Regions from separate parts of the Homo sapiens genome. Here all the other regions are linked to region 1. The links are contacts of gene promoters, found by promoter capture Hi-C in blood cells and fetal thymus (Javierre and others, 2016). All regions are on one chromosome and are shown on one strand. The core of a region is centred on a gene start or on the middle of the fragment in contact, and the rest is flanking DNA. Distances in the headings are between cores, read along the strand shown. Region 1 holds the start of THSD7A (thrombospondin type 1 domain containing 7A). Region 2 holds the start of LOC105375156 (a long non-coding RNA gene). Region 3 has its middle 45 kb from the start of C7orf78. Region 4 overlaps VWDE (von Willebrand factor D and EGF domains). Region 5 overlaps VWDE (von Willebrand factor D and EGF domains).

Region 1 (3,983 bases), core at 482-2,981:
TTTCAAATTGAAGTAAATTAATTTTATTTCATTTGAATTCATTACTCAACTGATCTTCAAACTTAAGGTGTTAGCAAGAATAATCTTGCTTTTTAAAATGTGTATATGTTTCATGTAATCTTCTAAGACAAATTGTGTACTTTGACTTTAAATAAATTTCTGTTTAATCTCCTCACTAAATTTCTGGATAGCTGCAACTTCTTTAAAAATTCCAGATATCGATAGTGATGCAATTGTAGAGTAGACTGAGCTGTCTCTTCAGTAGTGGTGCAGAGATGGGCTGAAGCAGGAAAAGACACTCACTCCCTGAAACCTGTTTGCAACCCCATGACGAATACATACTTTCCCTTTCAACTACAACATTCTCTTAATGTTTGGCATGACCAAGTTATTCTTAAATTACCCCCTAGCTCTAAGCAACAGGAATAATCTTTTCCCATTTTATTCCTATGAACATGTGAAGTTTCAGGTCCCCTAAGGAATTCTCAATGTTTTTTTAATGCAGAGAGAAAGCGAACCCGCAGAAAAGGGGTTGGTAATTCCTCACTCCGTATTGTTTTCCTGCCTGTCACGGCCCCCGCCAGAAACTCCAAGCATTTTGCCAATGGGTAATGATGGGCAGTTAGTAGCTGCTTTTGTTGGGTGGTTGAAAAACAAAGCAAAACAATTCTCAAGGAAGGAAGAGAAAGTTTGAACCCAGACATCCTAAAAGTTGTACACTTTAAAAATCCTCCGACTCGCTAGTTAATAATTGAGTTTTCAGTCTTTCCCTGAAGGCTCACTGGAGCCCCATTTGCCTTTAATTGTTGGAACCGCCCTCACTTGGCTTGTTTCTGAGGTGTCCCACATATCACAAAGCTAAAGTTAACAAATTCAACTCTATATCCACAAATGTCATGACAGTGAGCATATTGCTTTGCCTAAAGAATAAAGACTGAGACTAAACTCTTTGCTTGTTCTTTGCTAGAAATCTGTTTGAGAAACTCCTAGTAGAATGAAAATCCAGGGGTTAAAAATAATGCACTTCATCATGGAAGTGCGCGTTGCCCTCATTACAGAGCTGCGAGAGAAATATTCCAGCTACTCACTGTTGCCTCTTAGTTGTTATGCTTTTCTTTCCTAATTGCATCGGACATGACCTATTTGCTTCCTAAGAAATCATACTTTTTACCTTAGGATACCAGCATAACCAAGCCATCCAAAAGCACCGGGGTCCCTACAGAAGCCCACCAGCTCCTTAATGTGGCCCCAGATGTGAAGATGGGGAAAGGGTAACTCCGTCCCACTTACCAGTCTTCCACAGATAGAGGGTGGGCGCCTCCGCCTCGCCCTGCGCCGCAGCCCTGCCGGCGCCCGGGCGTAGCAGCAGCAGCAGGAGCAGCGGCAGCGGCAGCGGCAGCGGCAGCAGCTGCAGGACGCCCCGGCGCGGCCCCGCAGCGCCCCGGCTCCCGGACGCCCAGCGCCTGGCTTGCAGCCCCATGCCGCCTGCAGCCACTCCAGGGTCCAGAGCCGTAGCACGCTCGGCAGGGAATTTTTCTCCGCTCTTGGAACGTCTTTTCAAAGAGTACAGAAAGCAAAGCTCTTTCCTGCTATTGTTCGCTTCAGATGAGAAGGAGGGAGAGCGCGTCTAACACCAGGGAACAATAGCGTCCGCGGTGGTGGCCGTGGCCGCTGCCGCCGCCGCCGCCGCCTCTGGCGGGGATGCTGCTGCCGCTGCCATTCCTCGCAGAATGGCAGGTCCCGGCGGCTCCGGAGGCAACTGTCCTCAGGGGGCCCCAGCTGACTGAGCAGGTCTGCTAGGTCTGGGAGGCAGCGCAGCCCCCGCCAGCTGGAGGGGGAGGAGGGGGGCGTGAGCCCAAAGGAGCAGAGGGGGCTGGAGGCAGAGGGAGGCGAGAGCGCGAGGGCGAGAAAGGGGGCGAGCAAAGGGGAGAGGGGCCAGCCAGGCGACACCCACCTCCGACATACCCGCCTAAAGAACTCCGGTGCACATGGTGCGATGAAATATGTTTGGAAGGATGCACCAATAAAAAGAATCATCACCCGGCAGATTTCAGAATGACAAATAACAGGCATTGATATTCACTGTCATCCAAGGAGTCAAATGCTAGATCTAGTGGCATGCTATTCTTAGTACGTATTTACACAAAGCATCAGTGTTTATTATCTATTTTTAAGCCATGGCTTCTGAATTACTTTGTGTGGGGAGCAGTATTTGAGATCAGGTGTGAAAACACGAGAGCAGAAATGTTGACTTGTCAAAATGCACTTAAACCCTTCTTTAAATGTTGTTTTTAACTTAATCTATTATCAATAAAAATATGAGCAATATTGATGCTCTGTGACAAATTAAATTGTCTTTTAATAGCCTTTAAAACTGAATTAGTGTTAATGAGTATTTGCAATGCTACCTAATTACATAAATACAATTGTACAAAAAAAAAACCCTTAAAATTAAAATTATATTTCAGGTATAGAGTTCTGTCCCTTCATCTACTTCTTTCCCTCAAAAATATGCTACTTCTAAGTATTCAGATAGTTGTGAGTCAAACTGAGTCAGTAATGCTGTCTGGATATCTTGGAATTAGTAAATTCTTCATTTAAAATTTCCCTGACACCGATTTTTCTTAACTCTTACTGTAGCAAAATGCCTGTCGCAATCTAAATAAGGAACCACATGTGTTTGCATCTTTTGTCCTTTGTGTTTTCACTTTCTTCTACCAGTAGTAATAGAAGAATGTGTGTGAAGTCGGATAATGCTTTCCCCTTTCTCCTTCTCCCTTTAGCTAATAATAATATATTTTATTATTAATTCATTTCACAGTAAAGCTAAAATAGTAGGCATTTAACCATTAAAAATTCAGCAAACGGAAAGCCAAAGAAAACTACTATCCCATCAGCAATTTTCAGCCAAATAAAATAAAATTTTAAAAGCAGGAAAACTACTTTTTATGAATTTACTCCAACATAGCTACCCTAGAGTTTAAGATGAGGAAGCTACTCTTTCTGAAAGAGGAAACCTTCCATAAGGCTCCCTTGGGACCCTTGTCATTTTGCAAAGCCTTCCAGACACAGCCCCTCTGCATGCATTAGATTAAAAGCGGGTTTGATCAAATAATTCCCAGGTCCTGCCTGTTTAAGTATTCTGACATCAGAGGAAATTAGCTACGTTGAAGGTTGCAAATTTGGTCTTTGTTTACTTTCCGCTCTGTTAGGCCTCTAAGAAGGAATTAAAAGCTCAGAGAGCCCGAGCGCTGTGAGTCTGTGATTAGGAGAGATAAGCTAGTGTGGCTTACTATTTCTTCACTCGTGAAAAACAGGCAACAATCAAAAGATTATAGGTTGATAAGGAATAAAAAGGAAGCCTGATCTTAACTAATGTATGGTTCCCTGAAGGATCACTTCTTTTGACAGTTACACCACAGAAGGAAATGGGACCTGCTATTGCTTCCTGGGTTCTGTCGTTTCAGGAAAATTTCCATGTCCACTCCACAAGGAATCATTTTCCCATCCTTTCTGCTTGTATTTCTCAGCTACTGTTAGTGCCCTAAACCTTGAAATCCTCTAACTCTGGCACAGGAAGTATTTCAAACTGGACATACTCTGCTAACAGCAGCCATTCTACGCATTCGTGGGAAGCGCCAATCAATTCACCAAGTGGGAATTCATTATATAACAGAGGACAGAGAGTCTGAGGAATTAAGTTAATGTGCAAGGTCATTTACCTAGCCCTTCAAAAAGCCATCCGACACTATACTTAATAGCTTATTGTCAAAAGAAATTTTAAGATTCTGACCTTTATATTTACCCATGGTGGTATAATAATAACTCAACTTGTCAAGAGTGTAAACATCATAGCTACAAATTCAAGCATTATACGGGGTCAATTTCTAGGTTCCAATTTGCTGCCATTTACAATACACAATTATGGTGATATGTTCTGCAGTACTGTTTCAAAATAGCCAACATTTGGTTTCCTTCTTTCA
Region 2 (3,983 bases), core at 384-2,883, 660 kb after region 1:
AATCTCTGTGACTTGAACATAGATAATTGAAGAAGGAGGTGTCTAACCATAATAAATTTAAGAGGCTCCTTAGAAAAAAGGGAGAGAAAAAACACAAATTAACAAGCAAGCTCTGAACATCAGAAGTGCTGACACAGACAACCTCAGACTTGACAAGCAGCCAAATTTATTATAGGCACAATATGATAGCATCGTACATTATTAGGTGTATTTTACTCATGCATAGCCCTACTTTGTAAACAAATCACTGTGAATTGACCTCTATTTCCCTACAGCAATAACTGATCATCTGTTTAGAAATACATATTCTAGAATTTATTGAGGTTCTGTGGTGCAATAAGCATGACTGTCCTAAAATGACATTGAGAGCTCACCTTTGGCTGCCTCATCACTGAGAAAATTAGAATTTGGGGCTGCTACCTCCTCCTAGTGGTAAGGCTGCTTTCAAACTCAACCTACCACTGAACTGTTAGCCCTTTCCCTTGAAAAAGAGGAATGCAACTTCACACAGGTCCCCAAAGTCACCAGGTACCGATAGACAACTTTTCCCAAACAACACCTCCACGCACAGTTGACATCCAAACTCAGTAAAGATGGTGCCCAGATAACCTGTTAGTCAGTCTGTTCTGCCCGTCTTCTCCCATTGATAAAATTGCTCTCAGGCTTGCTCTGTGGTAAAGGAGAATGTCAAGAGGAGGAATTCTTACCACCCAAAATGTTCACCCACCATGTGTCCAACAGAGTGTCCTGGGCCTGGTCATTCATCCGGGGGATATTAAAAGGATTAGACCACACAAACACACTCATTTTTTTTCCTCATCTTACGCTGTAAATTTGTTACTCATGAAAGTCTATTCCCTATCCCACACTGTGTGACATGTCAGATGGTGGCCACAAAGTGGCTGTTTTGCACAGCTCTTTCAAGGATTAAATTCAGGCATGTCTAATCTCCAATGTCCAGTCTTAAAGCACCTCACCTTCCCAATAGGTTTCCAAAGGGTGCCAGCTCATTTCCCACTGCCAGTCGTCTTATTGTGCTGATATGTAATTAATATGGCTTTATGAACCTGAATTTATGTAAATATGTTATTTTACTATCCTCTCACCTTTCTTAAGCTTCAATTCTTACCTAGTTGTGTTGGTTATTTCCAGTTTGGAAATCCCCTTTGAAAGAGAAAGAGACAAAATAGGAGTTAGACTGTTTAGCTACATTATGGCATTAGTTGATATTACTTATTTTTTCCAAGTAAAGAAAGTCTCTTGTTTTTATTTTCTTTTTCGGAACACTATTTAAAGCCTATTTTACTTCTTTTTTAACTTATAGAATATTTCAAGTTGCAATTATCTGTTCTATGAAAAAATTATTACCACAGTAAATTTTAAGTTATTCCATTTATACAAACATATGTAATTCAAATAACTTACTTAAAAGCGTTCATGTTCCTTAATGCCTAGAAATACAGAAATCAGAGTGTTGAGGTTTTCATTTGCCACAACTTGTTGCGTTCCCAAATTTGTGGAGCTGAGAAACTCAAAAAAAATTTTTTTTTTTTTTGAGACGGAGTCTCACTCTTTCGCCCAAGCCAGACTGCAGTGGCGTGATCTCGGCTCACTGCAAGCTCTGCCTCCCGGGTTCACGCCATTCTCTTGCCTCAGCCTCCAGAGTAGGTGCAACTACAGGTGCCCGCCACCACACCTGGCTAATTTTTTGTATTTTTAGTAGAGACGGGGTTTCACCGTGTTAGCCAGGATGGTCTCGATCTCCTGACCTCGTGATCCGCCGCCCTCGGCCTCCCAAAGTGCTGGGAATACAGGCGTGAGCCACCTCGTCTGGCTGAGAAACTCAAAATTTCTAACTCTAAATTTCTAATTTGGAAATTCAGAAATATACATTCAGAATTACCTACCTGAGAGGAGACTTTTGGATGGTTCTACATATAATTGAAGTCAGTTGGCCACAAAATAATGTTTACATATTAGAAAATTCCAAGAATGCATTCATGAGAGCATTAAAGAAAATTCCAGAATGTTGCTTATGCTGTTCGTCCATCCAAACTCCTTTCCCTTCTTCTCCCCTTTTATTAAGTACTCTACTGTCATCAAGGGTTAGTAATGATCTCAGATGCTCTAAGAAATCTTTGGAGACATTCTCAAGCTTCAGAGACCTTCCTCTCACTAATTTCTCATGAGAGTAACCGTCAGGACAAATCACTTGGCATTTAGCACCTTATCTCGTGATGTATTCTTATAGGTTTGTATCTTTTCTAGCCAATTACTTATAATTTACTTGAAATCTGGAGTCATAATCTATTTTTGTACCCTAAACAACTAATAACAGTGAACTAAACATAAGTAGGTATTTGTATATATGCTTTTGATAAAGAACCATATGTATCTCTATGCAAAAAACAATGAGGCATAAATCAGATAGCATAAAGATAGGTTAATTCTATTTCCAAAACTATAAGAGATTTAGTCAATTCAACTTTACTGCCGTTTTCATTAGAAATAAAAACACCTTAAAATTGAACATCAGGGAAAATAATACAGAAAAAATTTTGGCTTCTTAGTTTATAAACTAGGACAAAATTATAAGTAATTTACTGCCACCTGGTGGCAAACTTTCACTTTAAATAAAATGAACAGTTAAAAGAAAGACTCCAGCCATTGTGGATCTTTGTCTAGGAAATTTTATATTCCGTTAGAAAAATATTAGAAGAGAAGTTAATACCCAAGTCATAGGAGATTTTGGACCAAAGAAGAGTAAGTAACTAGCCCGAATCAAATAAACTGTAAAGAAAAAAATCAAAATTATTTATGGCGGGGGGAGGAGCCAAGATGGCCGAATAGGAACAGCTCCGGTCTACAGCTCCCAGCCTGAGCGACGCAGAAGACGGGTGATTTCTGCATTTCCATCTAAGGTACCGGGTTCATCTCACTAGAGAGTGCCAGACAGTGGGCACAGGTCAGTGAGTGCGCACACCGTGCGCGAGCAGAAGCAGGGCGAGGCATTGCCTCACTCGGGAAGCGCAAGGGGTCAGGGAGTTCCCTTTCCTAATCAAAGAAAGGGGTGACGGACGGCACCTGGAGAATCGGGAAAATCGGGTCACTCCCACTCGAATACTGCGCTTTTCCCACGGGCTTAAAAAACGGTGCACCATGAGATTATACCCTGCACCCGGCTCGGAGGGTCCTACCCCACGGAGTCTCGCTGATTGCTAGCACAGCAGTCTGAGATCAAACTGCAAGGCGGCAGCGAGGCTGGGGGAGGGGCGCCCACCATTGCCCAGGCTTGATTAGGTAAACAAAGCAGCTGGGAAGCTCGAACTGGGTGGAGCCCACCACAGCTCAAGGAGGCCTGCCTGCCTCTGTAGGCTCCACCTCTGGGGGCAGGGCACAGACAAACAAAAAGACAGCAGTAACCTCTGCAGACTTAAATGCCCCTGTCTGACAGCTTTGAAGAGAGCAGTGGTTCTCCCAGCACGCAGCTGGAGATCTGAGAACGGGCAGACTGCCTCCTCAAGTGGGTCCCTGACCCCTGACCCCTGAGCAGCCTAACTGGGAGGCACCCTCCAGCAGGGGCACACTGACACCTCACACTGCAGGGTACTCCAACAGACCTGCAGCTGAGGGTCCTGTCTGTTAGAAGGAAAACTAACAAACAGAAAGGACATCCACACCAAAAACCCATCTGTACATCACCATCATCAAAGACCAAAAGCAGATAAAACCACAAAGATGGGGAAAAAACAGAACAGAAAAACTGGAAACTCTAAAAAGCAGAGCGCCTCTCCTCCTCCAAAGGAACGCAGCTCCTCACCAGCAACGGAACAAAGCTGGATGGAGAATGACTTTGACGAGCTGAGAGAAGAAGGCTTCGGACGATCAAATTACTCTGAGCTACGGGTGGACATTCAAACCAAAGGCAAAGAAGTTGAAAACTTTGAAAAAAATTTAGAAGAATGTATAACTAGAATAACCAA
Region 3 (3,983 bases), core at 709-3,208, 630 kb after region 1:
TGGCTCCTGCCTGTAGTCCCAGCTACTCGGGAAACAGGCAGGAGAATCACTTCAAGCTGGGAGGCAGAGAGTGCAGTGAGCAGAGATCATGCCACTGCACTCCAGCACTCCATCTCAAACAAAACCAAACAAACAAACAAATAAACAAAAAAAACATGTTTTTTTCTTACTTGCAGGTTTTATCTCTATAATTGAAAAAATAAAACTCAAGGGGGAAGGCATAAATACCAGTTAATACTGATCTTATATTCTACAGTTGATTGTATGAGGCATATTAACTCCCAAAACTTAATACTATGCTCATTATACTACTATTAGTTAATGTTATATATTCTAGTGAATATATTATTTTTATATATTCTATAGTTTAAGTTCAGTGGAAATCAGAAAACCTGATGCATTGTTTTATGCTGGTATTTTGTCTTTTTCTCCACAAGCACACATGTGATTTTATTAAATTCTTCTTCCCTTTTTATTTTTTTATTTTTGAGATGGAGTCCCCCTCTGTCATCCAGGCTGGATGGAGTGCAGTGGTGCAATCTCGACTCACTGCAACCTCCTCCTTCCAGGTTCAAGCAATTCTCCTGCCTCAGCCTCCCAAGTAACTGCGACTACAGGCATGTGCTACCACGCCCAGCTAATTTTTGTATTTTTAGCAGAGACAGGGTTTCACCATGTTGGCCAGGCTAGTCTCGAACTTCTGACCCCAAGTGATCCGCCCACCTTGGCCTCCCAAAGTGCTGGGATTACAGGTGTGAGCCACCAAGGCCAGCCTAAATTTTCTTAAGGATCCTGAGACATAGGAACAAATAATTTAAAATTTCAGCTCAGTGCCATTAAGAGCTCTTGTTTTACCCTTATAAACCATTTTCTGGTAGATTACTCGCTCATTTGACTCCTAATTAATATGCTGTTAACTTCTCTGTCCATTGCTCTTTTTTCACTTTGTCTACATCGTTTCTTGCATGATTCATTCTGTCCCATGGCCTATTTATTATTCTTACCCACCAAATCATAAATGTGTATCCCCAGTCCTGATCTTCTAACTGAGCCTAAGATCCATATAACCAACCTCTGAACCCAGCATGTCCAGGACTTCACATATACCACCCACAGCACACACAGTTTTCCATGATTTGAGCTTTGTAAATTCTCAGACTCTACTCCTCACACTTCCTGTTTCACACTTATATATCATTAAAACTGAACTCCACTCCTACCTCATTATACATTTGTGTTAACTTCAGGGTATTAAAATTATATCCAACTTTATCTTACCTACTAAGCTATGAACTCATTGAGTTCAATAATTCATTAACTCCAAAGCTTTATTTATTTATGAAGATCCAATACCTAACTTGGTGTTTAATAATGATAATGAATATTGTTTGAGTTGAACCGAACTAAAATACATCAAACTCAAGCCTCCTCTGATATCCACAGTTATCTAGCTCACTGGTGGATGTTAGGGTGTGTTGGTGCAAATTGTAATACTCTATTCTTATCCATAGGTGGCAGCAAGCCCCTAAAATTAGGGGGAAAATGGGCTGTGCATAGATAGGAGGATATCTATATCTATCCAAAAATACTAAGCAAGGGAAGAAAATACAATCTATTAACTTGGGAGCTCCTTAAGTGAGTGTTTCTGTCTTAATTACTCAATATCCCCAGGGTCCCTACATACCTCATTGTCTCACTCCTTCCAGACTTTTGTAAGTGCCGTTGTGTTGGTCTCTACATCTGTTTGCTGGTAGCTGAGAATAACAATGAAGTTGATTAAATTTGGTTTTGGTAATATATTTTTCTCTGGACAAACCTCTCTCTTGGCTGTTCCCGAAGTACCTATCACCCATTCTATACGGCTTTTCCTGAATTATTTTTCAATTTATTTCTAATACATGTTAATTATTTTTTACATATTATTACATAGGATGTATTATCTATATATGTCCTATGAAGTATTTGTACCATAATACAGAATACTCTAAAAAAAAATGACAAAAGTTACCAAATTCTTTCCATTCTTCTATTTCCTAGGTAACCAATCCTTACCACGTGACATGCATCCTTCTCCATATTTATACACACTCATAAAAAGTGCACACACACACACACACACACACAGGAATTTGAGGTGGTTTTGGTTCATTTTTTAAAAAATGAGCTAGTGTTGTCTTAATTTGTGTAAAATAGTTTTCTACCTTAAAACAGATACTATACATTCCTCCGGGTTCATATGTGTACATCTAACTTATTTTTAATAGATACAAAGTATTCCACAACCACAATCCAATCAACATTTTATTCTTTATAGATAAACAAGTTAATACCAGTTTCTGAGAGCCCCCTCCCTCAGAGTTTCATCACACAGATACTTTACAATTTATCTGGAGAAATTGTCTTTAAGAAAAAAAAATGGTCTTTTTCTCTCTGTGGAAATCATATATAAACAGAGACTCCAAAGCATTTTTTATTTTTAATTGTGTTGATATTGCCAAATAAGTTTCTGGAATGCAATAATAATTAATATTCCCATAAACATGATCAGGAGTAAACCCACAGCTAACATCATACTCAATGGGGAAAGACTGAAAGCTTTCTCCATAACCCATTTATGCCTGAGGTTGCAACTTTTTGAATTTTTGCAATCAGACCTTGACAATAACCTTGAGCAGTTGGATATAAATTATTCCCATATGCTTAGTGTTCCGATAATGGGACACTAGGCATAAATGGTTTTAAGCTCAAGAACATAACAAGAATGTCTGCTTTCACCATTGCTATTCATTATTGTACTAGTAGTTCTAGCCAGTACAATTAGATAAGAAAAGGCATCCAAATTGGAAAGGATTAAGTAAAACTATCTCTATTTACATATAACATGATCCTGCATATAGAAAATCCCAAAAAAAATCACAAGAAAGCTATTAGAGCTAAGAAATGTGGTTAGCAATGTTGAACAATATCAATAAACGACGAAAATCAATTTTGTTCCTATAATATTTGCAGTGAACAATGCAAAAAGGAAATTAATAAAGCAATTTCATTTACAATAGCATTTAAATAATAATATACATATTTAGGAAATAAATTTAACCAAAATTTGCAAAACTTTTGTTTTATAGTTTACTTGAAAACTATAAAGCATTGTTGAAACAAATTTTGAAAAAACTGAATAAATGGAGCAACAACTCATGCTCATAGGTAAGAAGACTTAATATTGTTAAAACATTAACTCTATCCAAAGTGATCTACAGGTTCAATGCAATCCCTATCCAAACTGCCACAGCTTTTTAGCAGAAGTGGAAAAGATGATCCTCAAATTCATATGAATTGCAAGAGGCTTTGAACAGTCAAAACATTTGTTAAAAACAAAACCATAGTTGACCCACACTACCTGCTTGTTATGGACTGCAGGTTTGTGTCCCCTTAAATCATTTTTTGTTGAAACCTAACCCTCAATGGTATGAAATTAAGAAGTGGGGCCTTTGGGAGGTAATGAGATTTAGATGAGATCTGCTTTTAAAAAGAGAAAGAGGGCCGGGCACGGTGGCTCATGCCTGTAATCCCAGCACTTTGGGAGGCCGAGGCAGGCAGATCACCAGGTCAGGAGTTCGAGACCAGACTGGCCAATGTGGTGAAACCCTGTCTCTAGTAAAAACACAAAAATTAGCCAGGTGTGGTGGTGACTGCCTGTAGTCCCAGCTACTCAGGAGGCTGAGGCAGAAGAATCGCTTGAACCCGAGAAGAGGAGCTTGCAGTGAGCCGAGATCATGCCACTGCACTCCAGCCTGGGTGGGAGAGCGAGACTCTGTCTTAAAAAAAAAAAAAAAAAAAAAGAAAGAGACTAGAGTTCACTTTCTGTCCACCACATGAAAATATGGCAAGAGGATAACTATCTGTAAGCCAGGAAGAGGTCCCTCATCAGTACCCAGCCATTCTGGCACTTTAATTTTGGACTTCTCAACGTCCAGAAGTCTGAG
Region 4 (3,983 bases), core at 1,484-3,983, 560 kb after region 1:
GGCAGAGGAATTGCTTGAACCAGGGAGGTGGAGGCTGCAGTGAGCTGAGATCGCACCACTGCACTCCAGCCTGGGCGACAGAGCGAGACTCCATCTCAAAAAAAAAAAAAAGAAAGAAAGAAAGTTTAAACCTCACTTGAAGTCATTTATCAAAATCCTTTTCAGATAAAAAATAGAATTAAATAGAAAAATAACCCAGGAAAAATAAGAAGAAACTATGTATGACTTGGGAAGAACCAGGGCCCTTACTAAATGCATGATCTTGGACAAGGCACTCAACATCCTTCTCTTTTATATTAGGTGGAAGTGGTACCCACCTCAAAGTGCCATAGTGAGGTATAGATAAAGTAATGTATATAATGCAACTTCTACATAGTAATGGCTAAAAAATCGTTAGCCAGGTTATAATTCTTGTTATTATTTCTATGCTTCAAAGCAAAGGAAAAACATAAAGGAAATATTGATATATGTGATTGAATTATAATTTTTAAAATATAAAAGTTAAATAATAAAATTATATGTAAATAGTACTATATTGTGTTATATTTATGTATAATTATACTATATTTGTTATTTTATTTTAACCATGTAATATTATCCATTTAAAAACTCTAAGACTACAAATGGGCAAAATGTACAAATAGGTAATTCACAAAAGAAACACAAATGCCTAATAAATACATGAGAATATTCAGTATTGCAAAAGGTATGTTTATGTACTGCTATTGGAATTAAAAATTATCACTATGTTTTAAATGAACAACTATATGTATCAAAAGCCTCAAAAAGACTTTAACCATTACTAATTTAACTTATAAAAATCAATCTTACTAAAGACACTAAAATTAAAACAATAATTACATGTACATTCGTCAATTGCAGAATTACTTATTATAGCAAAATCCTGAATGTCCACACATATGGTGATGGTTTAAATAAATATGATACATGTATGACATAATATTATTTTCAAAAATTATGAAAATGAATTTATAATAATAGGAAAATGATAATGCTATAACTGTAACTGAAAAAGAATAGCATGTTTTTCAATTGAACATATAACATGAACATTACGAAATATAAATAAGATAAAACAATAGCAAAATGTTAATAACAGTAGTTATGACTGTGTGGATAGATTATGAAGAAATGTTGTTCCATTCCTGTTCTTTATTTCCTAAGCTTTATGTAATGCATAAGCATTATTTAAAACATTACAAATAGTAATTTATGTAAGTCCACGTGTATTAACCTGTAGAGAAAAAAAATCTATTGATTTTCTGGTTGAATACTTTAAAGCCTTAGTACAAAAAAGGAATGAGAGGGTGGGGATAGGGAACACTTCCTCCTGGAGCACAGCCTGCTCAGGTTAGCTGATCTCCAGGAAAACAGCCAAGGAAACTGTTTCACCTACACATTCGTGTGAGGTTCTAGAAACAATTATAGCTAAATCAGCCTTAAGAGAAAAACACAAATATTTTTAAATGTGGTGAAGTTCCTCCAATTTTCTCAAGCTTTTCTTTTAAATTCTGAATTTTTTTTAGTTCTTTACAAATGAAGTGTCACAAAAGCGACTAATGAGCAAATAAACAAAAAAGAGATAATGAGACTTAGCCACAATGCCACACATTAAAATTAAACACTGTTAAAATTTCAATGTCTTTCCAGAGATCTTTTTACATTAGTGCTTAAAAAGGAAAATGATTCCTGTGTCTGCAGTATTTATAAAATGTGAATAACAATAAGGAAAACAAGCCTTTTGCTAAGACATAATCTTATATGATGTGATCTCTCTCCAGGGGCCAATGGTAGTTGCATGACCTCTAGGTTAAAAGAAAATCGACTTTAAGAATGAACTCACACCCAAAAAGTGTATAATTATATAGGGTAAAATTGTGAGTGATGATGAACACGTTAGTAATTTGGGAAGCATGACACAGACATATGTCTTCAATAATACAATGCCTCTATTAGCTACCTATCACAACTGAACACCTATTTATGCAGAACTCACTTGGGAAACCAGTCAGCTGAGAAAGATTGTGATAAGGGAGAAGATCAGGTACATGACTTTGGTCATGTGACTCATGCTTAGTGTCTGTGTCCACATCTTTATAATGAAGTAACACTAGCTACCTAAAAGCATCACTGAGAGAACTAGTGAGTTTACATATGCAATAATGTCCGCAAGTGCAGGGAATTTATAAGCTGCAAAATAAACGTCAGATTAAAACCCTTCTTACCATTTTGATCATATAACTTAGGATGCTGAGTTAATGGGCTTAGTGTTTTGACAGATTTAGACTTAGTCTCATTCCTTAGATCATGTGGATAAAAATGTGGTATCAATAATAAGAGTTGAACTGACAGGATAACTGGTCGAAGTATGATAAGTAGAAATAATGTCTATTTCATGACAGTATCATTAGATGAATGGGGACTATGAACGAATTAGGGGAACTTGCATTTGAAAATCATGCCAAGGATAAGTAGAATTGTCAATAGAAATTCAGAGTGGCTTGGATAAGTAATGCAAGATAGCTGAGGGACAACCCAAGAAATCACACTTTATGTTTTTTCTTCTGCTTATTTTTTGAAGCATTTTGGAAGAAAATGTATTTGTCAAATGAAATAAGAATGAAAGAAGCCACTTGGGCTAGTTCACTATACAAGACAATGCTATGATCACAATCATATCGTGTTGTAAAAAGAGTGAACGTTACGTAAAGTTAAGTTGCAAAAAAAAAAAAAACACATCCGATGTGAGTTCATGTACAAAACCTTTTTAATTTTGTCCATTTAAACCTGATGTGTTTGAAAGACATACACTTACATATTCACAAGTATAAAGAAAAAAAGGTATGCTGGCTGCACAAATTTGGGGATTGAGGAGAGAGATTCAGTGAGATAAGGCCATATGCCTCCAGAGTATTGAATGTCCTGCAGGTACACTGTCTTTCAATTGTGATCAGAAAATACCTGGAGATTTCACTGCCAGGCTGAGTTCTTATTAGTCTTAGAATAGGAGGTGCTGAGCCCGTAAGTTTTACTCCATCAGTTAAGAAATGAAGTGACAGGTAACAACTGACAAAAACAAGCACTTTAGACACACAGTATTTTACTATTTGCAGGTAATACAGCTAAGCACCTGAGCCCTGGAGAACGACTGCCTGTATTCAAAACTCAGCTTTTTGACCTGCTACCTGTGACTGTAAGAGCACTATGCCTAAGAATATATGTTTTCTGCACTGTTTGATGGAAATGATGATAGATTGTATGCTACAGTTGTAAACTTTTATACAAGATATTGTCGGTGAAAGTGTTTCTGGACTGCATGGAGCATAACACTAACAATTACTATTATTATTAGACTAGGTAATGTGGGAATAGTCTTTCAGATTAACTCAATACAAAATTAAAACAACATTTTAGCATGAGAAATAAGCTGGTGGTAAAAAGATACAATTCTCATATGAAAAACACATAAGGAAAATAACATGCAGTACTTAGGGAGTTGACATACCTCAACACATTTGGTTGGCATCTCGGCAGGTCTGTCAAGGATGAGAAATCTATACCATCCAGGGGAGAGGGAATGGTCACATATTAGGTCTTGAACAGCTGACTGCTGGAGGTGCCATGAGTCAAAACGGACACTTCTATAAGGACTCCGAAGAAACTGGTGTCCCCCAGGAGAGCACTCCTGAGCTAGTATGGAAAGACAGGTGTTTTTATGTAATGTGTTTTGTTTGTTGACATAGTTCGGTCCTCAATTAAAATTGATTCCCAAAACAAAAAATAAAGCAAATAAACTCACTATTGCACATAAAGACCCTCTGAAATGTCAGGGTCTCTTAGTAAGTCATAAATGACTTAACTAACTTGCATGTTTCATAAATGCGATAAACAAATCAACAAAACTCTTTAGAATGTACTTTTGAAACACTTAAGCTTTAAGAACTTTATTTTCATTTAATTCG
Region 5 (3,983 bases), core at 433-2,932, 530 kb after region 1:
AGATCTACCAGTGGTTTCCCTCTTGTAGAAGAAGAATGATGATTTCTCAGAGTAGTCATGATATCTACACTTAGGTGAATGTACAGTCTCGGTTTCTTGTGCAGAAAGAAAGCTCCAGCTAATGACTGGCAATATAGAGATTATTCCCAACTTTCTATTTCAAGGGGCCTACCCAAAATGAGGAATATACAGTGTTCTATTTCCTTTTCATTCATCAATATTTTGTGAGTATATATTATGTGCTGAAAATATCTCAGTGAAAAAAGATCACAAAGAAAATGACAGACAATATATAATTGTATTATTGCATTAAAAGAGACTCAAATAAGATATAATACAAAAGGAGTTATTAAGTCTAACTAACTAGCACAGTCAAAGAAGCCTTCAAAAAAGCAAACACTTCTCTTCCTGAAAATAAAAAGGGAGACTGCTATTTGGACACTGGGAGCAGAAGTGGAAAGAGTGCAATTCACATGAATGGAGGGAATAGTGTATGAAAAAGACAGGGATGCATGGAACAGCATAAACAGGAAGTTCAAGCCTACAAATATAGACAAGAGCTAAATCATAATGTGCCATCCATTTCTTGGTTAACATCCTGTATTTAATCCTATAAATCAGCAACCTTAAAATTGGATTTTGTAGAGTCTTGACTGCTTTGGGGGAGGAAGTGAAAGAAATGCTTAAGTGGTTGAATCTCTAGCTAAAGACTTGCTTAAAACTACTAATACAAAAGTAGAAAAAAGCATGTAAAATATGTTACACTTTATATTAAAAAAAGAGTTTCTATCCATTTTTTGTACCAAAGAAATATAGTAAGGATTAACCAGAAAATGATGACAGTAGAAACATACTTTAATGAAAAGAAGGAGTGATGGAAAGCAGATGACAGGGATGACAAGAAAGTAACAATTCTATGTGCATACCTTTGTATAGCTTCAACTCTTAGAACTATAATATTTCATATACCCTCCAAATAATTAAATAATTATAATCAACCAGAGTGTGGAAGAAACTCAAAATGGAAGACAAATATTTTTAAAACCTAGTTGTATTATAAATAAAACAGATAACCACTCTAAACAGAGTGGAAAATAGTTAATCTAACTCACTTTGGAAAGCAGTATCTGCCTTTATATTGTGACCTTGTTTCATGAATTTGTTTTTTTACAGAGGAAAGGCTTAGAATTTCTGAAACTGACTTACATATACATTTAGATTGAGAAACCAGGTAAATATATTGTGGATCATGAGAGCCAGTTTTCACTTGTAAAGAAAAGAGTTACAAATAAGGAAAGGAGAAGGCTAGAATGAACCTTATGGCACTGCACTGAAATCAGAAGTATCAGTATCAACTCACAGAGATGACAGATAGATAAACCGATAGATAGGTAGTTACGTGTGTGTATAAGTGTACATACATAGATTTTCTAACTGTATCCATTAAAAGGGCCAAGAAGGATTAACTACCCTGTAACAAGAAGCACACCTTGCACCCAAGTCTTGGATTTTAAATGACCCTCTTTGATAAATGGAACTACAGTCTTTAGAGAAACAGTTGATTCTAGAGTTGGGGTAGGAAAAATATGAGTCTGGAATATCATATGATGCCAGAATGTGATAAATTGTTCAAAAAATTATGGGAGCAAGTTAAAAGGACGTGTGAACGAATTTGTAATAGTTCCCAATGGTCAAAGCTAGAATAATTTAAACAGCCAAATAAAGAATGATAGCATTGAGTTATAATTCATGAAATAAGTTTCCATTAGTCTACACTGGCATGAGTAAATAAATGAATAAATAAATTGGAAACAAGGAACAGCTCTTCCTTTCAGTAGAATTCCAGATAATATGTGTAGAAGAAATGATGGAAATAGAAAATCACCACTGGTAAATACCATAGTCATAATTGCTACAAGCAAAAATTATAGTTGGATGCTAAAATTAGGAAGAAAATGTTTGAGGAGCTATCATATATTTGCATAATCTAAAAGTGTCTCCCTACAACGTATTTATTAGTTAAAAAGGGAAAAACAGGGAGCTTAAAGTGAAGATACATGGCAAAAACCCCTTAAGTAAGTGATCAAAATTTACATTGCCCGTGATTAGATACATTGCATCATGAAAGGATGCACTAAAAATTGTACAACATGGCATGACCTCAATCTAACCATAAAAAAGGAACATTCCACAAAATAACTGGCCAGTGCTCTTCGAAAGAACCAAGTGTGCAAAAGATGAAGAAAGATGGAGCACCGTCACAATATTCAAAAGAGCCAAGTGTGCAAAAGATAAAGAAAGATGGAGCACTGTCACAATACGAAAGAGACTGAAGAAACATGACAAAATGCAGTATAAAATCTTAAATTAGATCCTGAATCAGGAAAAGGACCATTATTAGTTGGACAACTGGTAAATTTACAGAACAAGGTCTGTAAATTTGTTAATAGTATTGTATCGAGGTGAATTTTCTGATTTGAATAATTATTTTATGAATATGGTTTATAAATAAGATATTAACTTTATGAGAAACTGGGTGAAGAATTACTGGAAACTGCATTATTTTTACAATTTTTCTGTGAGTATCAAGTTATTCCAAAATAAAAGTTTTTAAAAATTACTTCGTAAAATGGGAAGTCATTAAGGATTTTGCATGACCTGATTTCCAAAATGCTAGATTTTAAAGAGGAACCCAATCTTCGAAGGGAACTGAAATTTGAACTAAGAAGGTGAGCAGGAATCGATTCACGTTGACTGAACATGTAATAGGGGAGCTAGGAGAAGACATTAGCTTAGTGGCAGGGCGAGCACATTCCACACAAAGTGAATGCAAGGCTTTGAGCAGGGCCCATGTTCGTAGGGTTGGGGATCCTAAAATAGTGGCACATTAAACAGACTTGACTGGAGGTATGAATTAAAGGCTAGAAGAGCCTTTAAAACCCAGCACTGGGCAAGACTGGCGCTAGGAGAGACAGACTTAACTTCAGCACAATGTAAAATAAAGACGGATATGCACTCTAATTTTAGTTTGGGCAAGTGAACATCTTTCTTTCTATAGTTTTTGATTTGGTTTGGCTCTGTGTCTCCGCCCAAATCTCATCTCGAATTGTAATCCCCAGGGATCGAGGGAGGGACATAGTGGGAGTTGACTGGATCATGAGGGCAGTTTCTCCCATGCTGCTCTCATGATAGTAAGGAAATTCTCATGAGATCTCGATGGTTTAAAAGTGGCAGCGTCCCTCTTAACTCCCTCTCACCTGCCACCTTGTGAAGAAGGTGCCTCCGTCTGCCTTCTGCCATGATTTTATGTTTCCTGGGGTCTTCCCAGCCATGTGGAACTGTGAGCCAATTAAACCTGTTTTCTTTATAAATTACCTAGTCTCAGGTAGTATCTTTATAGCACTGTGAAAATGGACTAATACAGTTCTGTATAGTGTGTTAGAGGATTCCAGATTTTACTCTGTATTTATCAGAAGTTTGCAGGAAGTGGCAGGTAGTATGAGAGTAAATCACAACAAACAATGCATCTGAAGGTAAGTACAAGATGTGCTTTCCAAGAGAATATAAATCTACAAAATTCGCTCCTGGCACATCACTTAGTTTTCATGTGATGTCATATGATTTATTCTGCCATGACTATTACAATGTCTATTCTCTTAAGTGATATTAAAATTACTTACATGTACCTTTCTATTTTGTCTTATTACTTCATTGGGATTAAAATATTTCATGACTTACTTAGAAAGCCTCCACCCATAAAATCCTGAAGTTAGCATACTTGTGTTTAACTACTTGATAAAGACACATACAAACCTATTTCCTCCTGTAAATTCTCAATCTCAGAATCACATTTGGCTTCATTAATTTAGAGAAAAAGTAAGAAGAATATTATAATGTGGTTTGCTGTCTTAAGTTTTCAGCTTACCTACATATACTTTTGAAATTCATAGAGTCATCCTTAAAATAAAATTTCCATGTGAATA

The links. Contacts are between HindIII fragments. The CHiCAGO score rates a contact against its expected background, and 5 or more counts as called.
Region 2: a contact is called between a fragment that was not itself captured here and the fragment with the promoter of THSD7A in region 1, in 5 of 17 cell types (M2 macrophages, megakaryocytes, M1 macrophages and 2 more). The highest score is 9.6, in M2 macrophages.
Region 3: a fragment that was not itself captured here is called in contact with the fragment with the promoter of THSD7A in region 1 in 1 of 17 cell types (megakaryocytes); the score reaches 5.2 in megakaryocytes.
Region 4: a contact is called between a fragment that was not itself captured here and the fragment with the promoter of THSD7A in region 1, in 1 of 17 cell types (M1 macrophages). The highest score is 5.1, in M1 macrophages.
Region 5: a fragment that was not itself captured here is called in contact with the fragment with the promoter of THSD7A in region 1 in 1 of 17 cell types (M2 macrophages); the score reaches 5.3 in M2 macrophages.

The regions. Positions count from the first base shown.
Region 1 is chr7:11,830,467-11,834,449 of GRCh38, forward strand. It overlaps THSD7A (thrombospondin type 1 domain containing 7A), which reads right to left and starts at 1,732. Exons shown (of 28, transcript NM_015204.3): 1 at 1,291-1,732. The coding sequence starts at 1,480. RefSeq lists enhancers at 1,329-1,869, 1,870-2,409. The HindIII fragment of the contact is 6,451 bases long and covers 1-3,983 here.
Region 2 is chr7:12,494,389-12,498,371 of GRCh38, forward strand. LOC105375156 (a long non-coding RNA gene) reads right to left here and starts at 2,123. Exons shown (of 8, transcript XR_001745093.2): 1 at 1,908-2,123; 2 at 1,426-1,451; 3 at 1,130-1,164. It also overlaps a transcript of C7orf78 not described here. RefSeq lists an enhancer at 2,534-3,162. The HindIII fragment of the contact is 1,039 bases long and covers 1,115-2,153 here.
Region 3 is chr7:12,457,201-12,461,183 of GRCh38, forward strand. No RefSeq gene overlaps it. Among named protein-coding and RNA genes, the nearest start is that of C7orf78, 45 kb to the right of the region's middle. The HindIII fragment of the contact is 1,269 bases long and covers 1,325-2,593 here.
Region 4 is chr7:12,390,068-12,394,050 of GRCh38, forward strand. It overlaps VWDE (von Willebrand factor D and EGF domains), which reads right to left. Exons shown (of 29, transcript NM_001135924.3): 2 at 3,527-3,711. Among named protein-coding and RNA genes, the nearest start is that of VWDE, 12 kb to the right of the region's middle. The HindIII fragment of the contact is 2,437 bases long and covers 1,516-3,952 here.
Region 5 is chr7:12,362,815-12,366,797 of GRCh38, forward strand. The region is part of intron 13 of VWDE (von Willebrand factor D and EGF domains); the gene reads right to left. Among named protein-coding and RNA genes, the nearest start is that of VWDE, 39 kb to the right of the region's middle. The HindIII fragment of the contact is 5,208 bases long and covers 1-3,983 here.